2 separate regions of the Homo sapiens genome follow, and region 1 is linked to region 2. Evidence: promoter capture Hi-C in 16 types of primary human blood cells and fetal thymus (Javierre and others, 2016). All regions are on one chromosome and are shown on one strand. The core of a region is centred on a gene start or on the middle of the fragment in contact, and the rest is flanking DNA. Distances in the headings are between cores, read along the strand shown. Region 1 overlaps PPP3CC (protein phosphatase 3 catalytic subunit gamma). Region 2 holds the start of PDLIM2 (PDZ and LIM domain 2).

Evidence for each region. The method cuts DNA at HindIII sites, captures the fragments that hold promoters and counts their contacts. A CHiCAGO score of 5 or more calls a contact.
Region 1: a contact is called between a fragment that was not itself captured here and the fragment with the promoter of PDLIM2 in region 2, in 4 of 17 cell types (total CD8 T cells, naive CD4 T cells, naive CD8 T cells and 1 more). The highest score is 6.7, in total CD8 T cells.

The regions. Positions count from the first base shown.
Region 1 is chr8:22,466,628-22,470,553 of GRCh38, reverse strand. All of the region lies in intron 1 of PPP3CC (protein phosphatase 3 catalytic subunit gamma), which reads right to left. Among named protein-coding and RNA genes, the nearest start is that of PPP3CC, 28 kb to the right of the region's middle. The HindIII fragment of the contact is 1,292 bases long and covers 831-2,122 here.
Region 2 is chr8:22,579,225-22,583,055 of GRCh38, reverse strand. It overlaps PDLIM2 (PDZ and LIM domain 2), which reads right to left and starts at 2,581. Exons shown (of 9, transcript NM_001368120.1): 1 at 2,359-2,581; 2 at 1,526-1,677. The coding sequence starts at 2,451. RefSeq lists silencers at 686-980, 2,545-2,634, 3,365-3,524, 3,535-3,624, 3,725-3,794 and an enhancer at 655-1,347. The HindIII fragment of the contact is 20,077 bases long and covers 1-3,831 here.

The DNA.
Region 1 (3,926 bases), core at 227-2,726, 110 kb after region 2:
AGTTCTTGTATGTTCTGGGTACATGTCCTTTATCAGATGTAAAGCCTTTTTTGTTCTTAATGATCTTTATTTATGTAAATATATAATTCAATTAGGTTTATCATTATGACATAATTGACTATATACCAATTCTTTAAACTTTGTTTTTGAATATAGAAAATGTAGAAATTTTACTTAGGAAAATAGTGTGCTTATGATAATTTATTTAAACATTTTCTTATTGTTGGATAGCTAGACTATTTCAAAAAATTGTAAATTATACTGCAGGGCCAGGCATCGTGGCTCACACCTATAATCCCAGTGCTTTGGGAGGCTATGGCAGGAGGAACGCTTGAGCCCAGGAGTTCAAGGCTGCAGTGACCTATGACTGAGCCACTGTACTCTAGCCTGGGTGACAGAGTGAGATTCTGCCTCTAAAAAAAAGAAAACATAAATAAATGATACAGCAGAGAACATATATATATGTATGTGTGTGTGTGTGTGTGTGTGTGTGTATATATATATATCACCCATATTTATTTTATATATATCACCCATATCATATATATATACATGGATCATTTATATATCACATATATATATATATATATGTCTTTGAGCAAATCTTTATTTCCCTATAAGTTTCTAGAAATTATATGAATTATCTACTGCCATGTAACAAATTACCCCAAAACTTAGTGGCTTAAGGCAATAATCACTTATTATCTATCACAGGTTCTGTGGACCATAAATTCAGACAGGGCACAGTGGGGCTGGCTTGTCTCTGCTCCGCAACTTCTGGGGCCTCAGCAGGATACTCGACAACCTGGGGCTGGAATTACCTGAAAGCTTTCTCACTCATACTGTGGTTAATACTGGCTGTTGGCTGCAGCTTAGCTCAGGTTTTTGAAGAGAATACCCACATGTGGCCTCTTCGTATGACTTAGTTCCAACAACAAGCATCCCAAGACAAAGAGAGAGCCAGGAAGAAGCTGTAGCTTTTTTTTTTCCCTCTTTTTATTTGTGCAAATTTACAGATTACATGAGGAATTATGTTACATGTATATTATGCATAGTATTAAGCCAGGGTCTTCAGGATGTTCATCACCAGGTACAATACATTTTTGTTAGGTATAGTCATCCTGCTCTGCTATCAAACATTGAATCTACTCCTATCTTAATGTATGTTTGTACCCTTTAACTCACTTCTCTTCATCCTTCCCCTTTCCCCCACTCACCCTTCCCAGTCTCTCTTATCTATTTTCCATTCTCTACCTCCATGTGTTCAAATTTTTAGCTCCCACATATAAGTGAGAATATATGATATTTGTCTTTTTGTGCCTAGCTTATTTAACTTAAGATAATGACCTTCAGTTCCATCCATGTTGCTGTAAGTGACATTATTTTGTTTTGTTTTTTTATGGTTGAACAATATTCCATTGTGTATATATACCATATTTTCTTTATCCATTCATCCACTAATAGATACTCAACGCTGATTCTGTATCTTTGCTGTTGTGAATAGTACTGCAATAAACATGTTGATTTATTTTCCTTTGGGTAGATACTCAGTAGTGCGATTGCTGGATCAGTTGTATCCTATTTATATCATGGCCTCAGAAATCCCATCACATTATTTCCACCATATTCAATTGGTTGAACAGTCACAAGCCTGCCCAGGTTCAAGAAGAGTGGAAATAGATTCCACCTACTGGTGGGGAGTGACAAAATTCTGTGCGAGCATATGAGACTAAAAATATTGCTATGGCAGTTTCTTGAAAATAGATTGTCATACTTTCTCTATTTAAAAGGAAAAATGGCCCGTCACCAATGCCTCCAACAGTACCTTTAAATCAGAGTCCATTTTAAATGGGCCACTTTGTATTTTCCAAGTTATTACCAAATGAGAAAATCTATTCAATTATTACAAGCAAAACATTACAAAAGATATATTCCCAATGTTTCAAAATAATTTGAGATGCCTATTAGAAGCTGTATAAATATTTTCTCTAATTTGCCAGCTGATTAAAAAAAAAACTCATGAATCTTCTTTCCTAAATGAAAGGGATAAATATGTAAAAATAAACTATTTATGAAAAGCAGACATTTTTAAAATGCTTGATTCAAAATATTATGTCAAGCTTCCAGTTTAGAATGACTAGCAACTTCTGGCCAGGTGCAGTGGCTCACGCCTGTAATCACAGCACTTCGGGAGGCCAAGGTAGGCAGATCACCTGAGGTCAGGAGTTTGAGATCAGCCTGGCCAACATGGTGACACTCTTGCCTCTACCAAAAATACAAAAGTTAGCTGGGCGTGGTAGCGGGCGCCTGTAATCCCAGCTACTCGGGAGGCTGAGACAGGGTAGTCACTTGAACCCGGGAGGCAGAGGTTGCAGTGAGCCGAGATTGCACCACTGCACTCCAGCCTGGGCGACAGAGCAAGACTCTGCCTCAAAAAAACAAAAAAAAGAATGACTAGAAACTTCTGATTCAACATTTCTTAACAGCTGCTATGATTTGAATGTTCCAAAAATTCATAGGTAAAACCTAATCCCCAACATGGTGGTATTAAGACGTGGAATATCTGGGAAATTATTAGGTCGTAAGGACTCTGCCCTCATGAATGGCATTTGTGCCATTACAAAAGAGGTCCAAAGGAGCTTGTTTGTCCCTTCTGCCACGTGAGGACACATAGAAGGTGCCACTTATAAGGAAGAGGCCCTCACCAGACACACAATCTGCTGGCAAGCTGACTCTTGGACTTCCCAGCCTCTAGGACTGTAAGAAATAAATTTCTGTTGTTCACAAATTACCCAGTCTAAGGCATTTTGTTATAACATCTTGAACAGGCCGGGGGCGGTGGCTCACACCTGTAATCCCAGAACATTGGGAGGCGGAGGCAGGTGGATCATAAGGTCGAGTTCAAAACCAGCCTGACCAACATGGTGAAACCCTATCTCTACTAAAAATAAAAAATTAGCCGGGTGTGGTGGCGCGTGCTTGCCTCAGGAGGCTGAAGCAGGAGAATCACTTGAACCCAGGAAGTGGAGGTTGCAGTGAGCTGAGATCGCACCACTGAAACTCCAACCTGGGCGACAGAGCAATGCTCTGTCTCAAAACAAACAAACAAACAAAAAACACATCTTGAATAGACTAAGCGAACATCTAACTAAAATACACATAAAAATAAGACAGAACAAAATGAAAACTCTCACCATAAAAACTATGATCGAAAAGTATCCTCAATTAATTCATTCAAATAATTTTATTGAATTGCTACTATGTGTTAGGTACTTATACGCACTAGTAAAAATTTTGATGGCAAATATCTCAATGCATAAGTACATAAATAAATACCTTAAAATACCATAAATTTTTTTTTATTTTCTCCTAGGTAGATATAATTTACTTAGATCATAATTTATTAACATTTAGCCAATCTGCAATTTTTAGAAATCTCAGTTATTGTTAAATATTTTGCCCTTACAATGTCTGTAGCACATTTTATTTTCCAAAACTGGCTGCAACCAGCCAGGCATGGTGACTCACTCCTGTAATCCCAGCACTTTGGGAATCCAAGTTGGGGAGACTGCTTGAAGCCAAGAGTTCGAAACCAGCCTGGGCAGCATGGTGAGACCCCCATCTCTACAAAATTTTTTTTTTAAATTATCCAGGTGTGGTGGCATCTGCCTGTACTCCCAGCTACTCAGGAGGCTGACACAGAAGGATCTCTGGAACCCAATAGGTTGAGGCTGCAGTCAGCTACAGTCGTCAGCCTGGACAACAGAGTGAGACTCCATCTCAAAAAGCAAAAACAGAAAAAATTTTTGCAATCTACCCATCTGACAAAGGGCTAATATCCAGAATCTACAAAGAACTTAAACAAATTTACAAGAAAAAAACAACCCCATCAGAAAGTGGGCAAAGGATATGAACAGACACTTCTC
Region 2 (3,831 bases), core at 1,332-3,831:
GCTTCCTGGGAGAGCCATGGGATCAGGGTGAGGAGAGCTCAGTCTCTGGCTCCAGCCTGGAGCCCTGCTTCCTGCCCCAGGGCTTCTGAATACCAGAGAGGTCACCTGGGAGGGTAGGAGGCGGGAGATGGGGGCGGGGGGGGGGGTGGGCATCACGTCAGCAAAAGTAAGGAGACTGGGCCGGGCGCGGTGTAATACCTGTAATCCCAGCACTTTGGGAGGCTGAGGCAAGTGGATCACGAGGTCAGGAGATCGAGACCATCCTGGCCAACGTGGTGAAACCCCATCTCTACTAAAAATACAAAAATTAGCTGGGCGTGGTGGCACGCGCCTGTAGTCCCAGGTACTCAGGAGGCTGAGTCAGGAGACTCTCTTGAACCCGGGAGGCAGAGGTGGCAGTGAGCCGAGATCACGCTACTGCACTCCAGCCTGGCAACAGAGCGAGACTCTGTCTCAAAAAAAAAAAAAAAAAAAAAATTAAGAGACTGGAGTCTGGGCTTGCCTGGTGCAGAACCAGAGGCCTGACTTACAGCCCAGGCCTACCTCCCCCGAGCCCTGGTCCCTCCAGAGAACCCCAGAGGAAGAGACAGTCCGAGGCTCCTGCCCTTCCGCTGCCAGACCCTCAGCCTCCTGTAGCTTTCTGCCCCATTCCCAGATGCCATGAGGTGCTCTCTACCCTCCTTCTTGGGGTCCCGCTCCTGCAAACACCCAGGGACCTGAATGACATGAAGGGAGCCGGCTTCTGCCACACCACAGGGCAGGGCAGTTGGAGAAGGAGGGGCTTGGTAGGGCTGAAGAGAGCAGGACAATGTGGGGGTGGCCAGGATGCAAGAGGTGTCTGACTCAGGTTCTAGGCCCGTGCAGAGGGCTCTCCTGGCTCGGGGATCTCCTGGCATTCCCGATCTGTGACTCACTGCAATGCCCCACCCCAGGGAGCCACCTGTTCCCCCTATAGCTTGGCCTCCAGGCCCCACCCTGGCCCCACCTTGGCTTATAGGCTCAAAACCCTAGGAGTAACCCAGGATCGGGCATCTGCCTTCAGTGATGGGGAGGAACAGACAGCCTCTATGAGGAATGAGCCCCCCAAGTCCTCACTTCCAGCTGGGAACTAAACAAAGGCCATGCCCTGTTGGAAGCAGGAGTCCTGGGGATGCAGCCTCGGGCATACCTTTCCCAGAAGGTTCCCCTCTTCAACCCACTTCATGCCCACGCCCTGTGCCCTGCACACTCTTGGGAACCAGTCAAACCCGGGCTTCAAGGTGGCTGGTGCCAGCTCGCCCTGCCCAGCCTGTGACTGCACGCCCAGCCTGGCGCCCACCTTTACCCAACCAGGCATGGGAACACCCCTCAGCCCACCCTGCTGCAGGAAGCAGAGCCCAGGACCTTCTCACCAAGGTGTGGAGAGGGCCCAAGAAGGCCGCTTTAGGGCTGAGCTCTAGCCCATGGGCAGGAGCAAGGGCTGCTCAATACGTGGGGTGGTGGAGGAGGGGGAATGCCACAGGCTCTGCAGAGCGGGAGGCCCTACCGGTCCAGCTGCAGCCGCAGGGGCGAGGGGCTCTGGCGGATCTTGCTCTGGGCCTCGGCATGCAGCATGCCCTCCGCGCTTTCCCCGTTGATGGCCACGATTATGTCTCCAGGCCGGAGGTCAGCGTCCTTGGCTTTGCCCCGCTCGGCCACCTGTAGGGATGAGGAGCTGGCATGCTCAGACCGTGGCCCAGCTGGAGAAGGGACTTCCCACTCTGCTACCCAAGAAACACAGAGGCTGGCTTGACCCAGGCCGGCCTGCACCCTCCTGCATGTCCCTCTGCCTGCTCATGACACCCAGCTGATCAGCCATCCCCTCCAGGAGCGCAGGTGGCAGCCCCCACCCCACACTGGCATTCTAATGGGCCTCCCAAAGAATGTGCAGTGGCAGAATTTCAGGAACTGTGCTTGGAAATACTTTTGGATAGAGAGCCTTGCCCGTGCAAATCGCACCTTGCAGGTGGCTGCCTGCACAGCCCTCCTGTGAATGTTCCCAGCCTGGGCCCAGGTCAAGAGGAGACTGCCAAGAACTCCGGGGCTCTTGTTCTAGTAATCACCCCAAATGGCTGCCTGCAAGTGTGGGGATAGCAACTGGGGAGGCAAGAGCCGGCCCTGTCCTGGTCCCAGCTCCCTTTCACTCCCAAGGTCTGTTCCTGAAGTGGCCACCACATCCCCGTGGCAAAGGGCCACGGCTCCCTTACAGCCAGCACGCCAGGCAGCAGCAGATCCCTAGCTCCAGAACAGAAAAAGCAAGCCATCTGTGCAGAGTGGGGTGAACAGGGCCGACCTCGCTTCTGGCAGGACCTTCTCATCTCTTTGAGCCACCATCCTTACCTTAGTCACCATGATGGGCGTGTGGAAATCCCTGCCCCCTGTGATACGGAAGCCCCAGGGCGCTGGCCCGGCCACATCCACCGTCAACGCCATACCTGAGGAAGAGAGGACCAGGAGGTGAAGTCCATGCCCCTAGCCGGCTCTGGGGGCACTGTAAGGCAGCAGGAGAGGAGCCAAAGGGAGAAGGAGAGGGCACCACAGCTCCCGGAGCAGCTACTCAGGGGCTTTGGGGTGGGTAGAGGAAGTGGCTAACTCCCTCCCTCAGCCCGGTTTCACTTCCCCCCACCCTGGGAAGCCATGCTTCTGGGTTCTCCCTTCCTTAGTCTTCAGCCCAGGGAGCGACTCCCAGGAGGGGGCTGCCCAGGCTGCCAGGCAGGGGGCTTGCTGGAGCATGGGGGGCAGGGGCTGGCAAGTGGAGGGGATGCCAGCACCCCCTCAGTCTCCCCTCCTCCACCATCAGGGCTCAGTCCCACTAGCGCTTGCTTCCTGTCCCCAAAACCCACAGCACACGGTACTTCCTCTCCACTCTGGGGGAGGGCTGGTGAGTGGCCTAGGGAGAGCAGGGCTCAGGAAGCAGGAGTGACGGGTCAAGGAACAGGCTGGCACCAGTACAGACTGTGTAAGTCACTGGCCAGGTGAAGGACTGGTGGGGTGAGGCCGAGTCTTCACATGGGCCTCCTAGCTGCCCACCTCGTTCTTGGCAAAGTGGATCACACGGGCAAGACCGGGCTCCCCACCTCCCCCAGGGGCCGGCTGCCAGGGCAAGGAGGCCAGGGTTCATCTGTCAAGCTGGACACACCCACCCCCAGATTCCTGATGCTGCCCGACAGACAGCCGGGGTGACAGGCCTCCCATCCACAGCCCCTCCGCTGGGCAAGGAAGTGCCCTTGCAGACAGACCCCTGTGGGATTTCCTGAGCCTCTAGCTCTGGAGCCAGGAGCCAATCCAGGCAGGAAGCCGCGGTGCCAGGCTGGGCACCACCCTGCCCAGCACCCATCCTGGGGCTGCCCTGGGGACGCAAGTGCTGCGAGAATCTATCAAGAGCACCAGCGGTCTGTCCGCTCCATCCCCGGCTGCCTTCCCCTTGGGCCCAGGCCTAGCCTCTGTTCCCAGCACCGCCCCCACCCCAGTCCCCGAGGCCGGCTCGCGGCCGCCCCGAGATTCCCAGACCTTTGAGCCGGTCAGTGGACTCCGCGCTGCGGGCGCCGCGGGGAGGTGCCCAGCCCGATGGCCCGGCTCTACCAGTTCTGGAGCCTCCTTCGCTCCGAGGGCAAAGTACCCTGCGGGCTGGGGGCTGGAGGAGGAGCGCTCCGGCCGGGGAGAGCGCAGCTCGCGGGGGCGCCCCCGCTGATGCGAGGCTCCAGGGAGCTGGGCCGCGGACGAGGCCAGGGTTCCGCGCCGACAGGGGCGCGGAGAGGAGCCCGGCGCCGGGGAGGGCGGGCCGCGCGGAGAGGCGCAGGTGGGCGCGCTCAC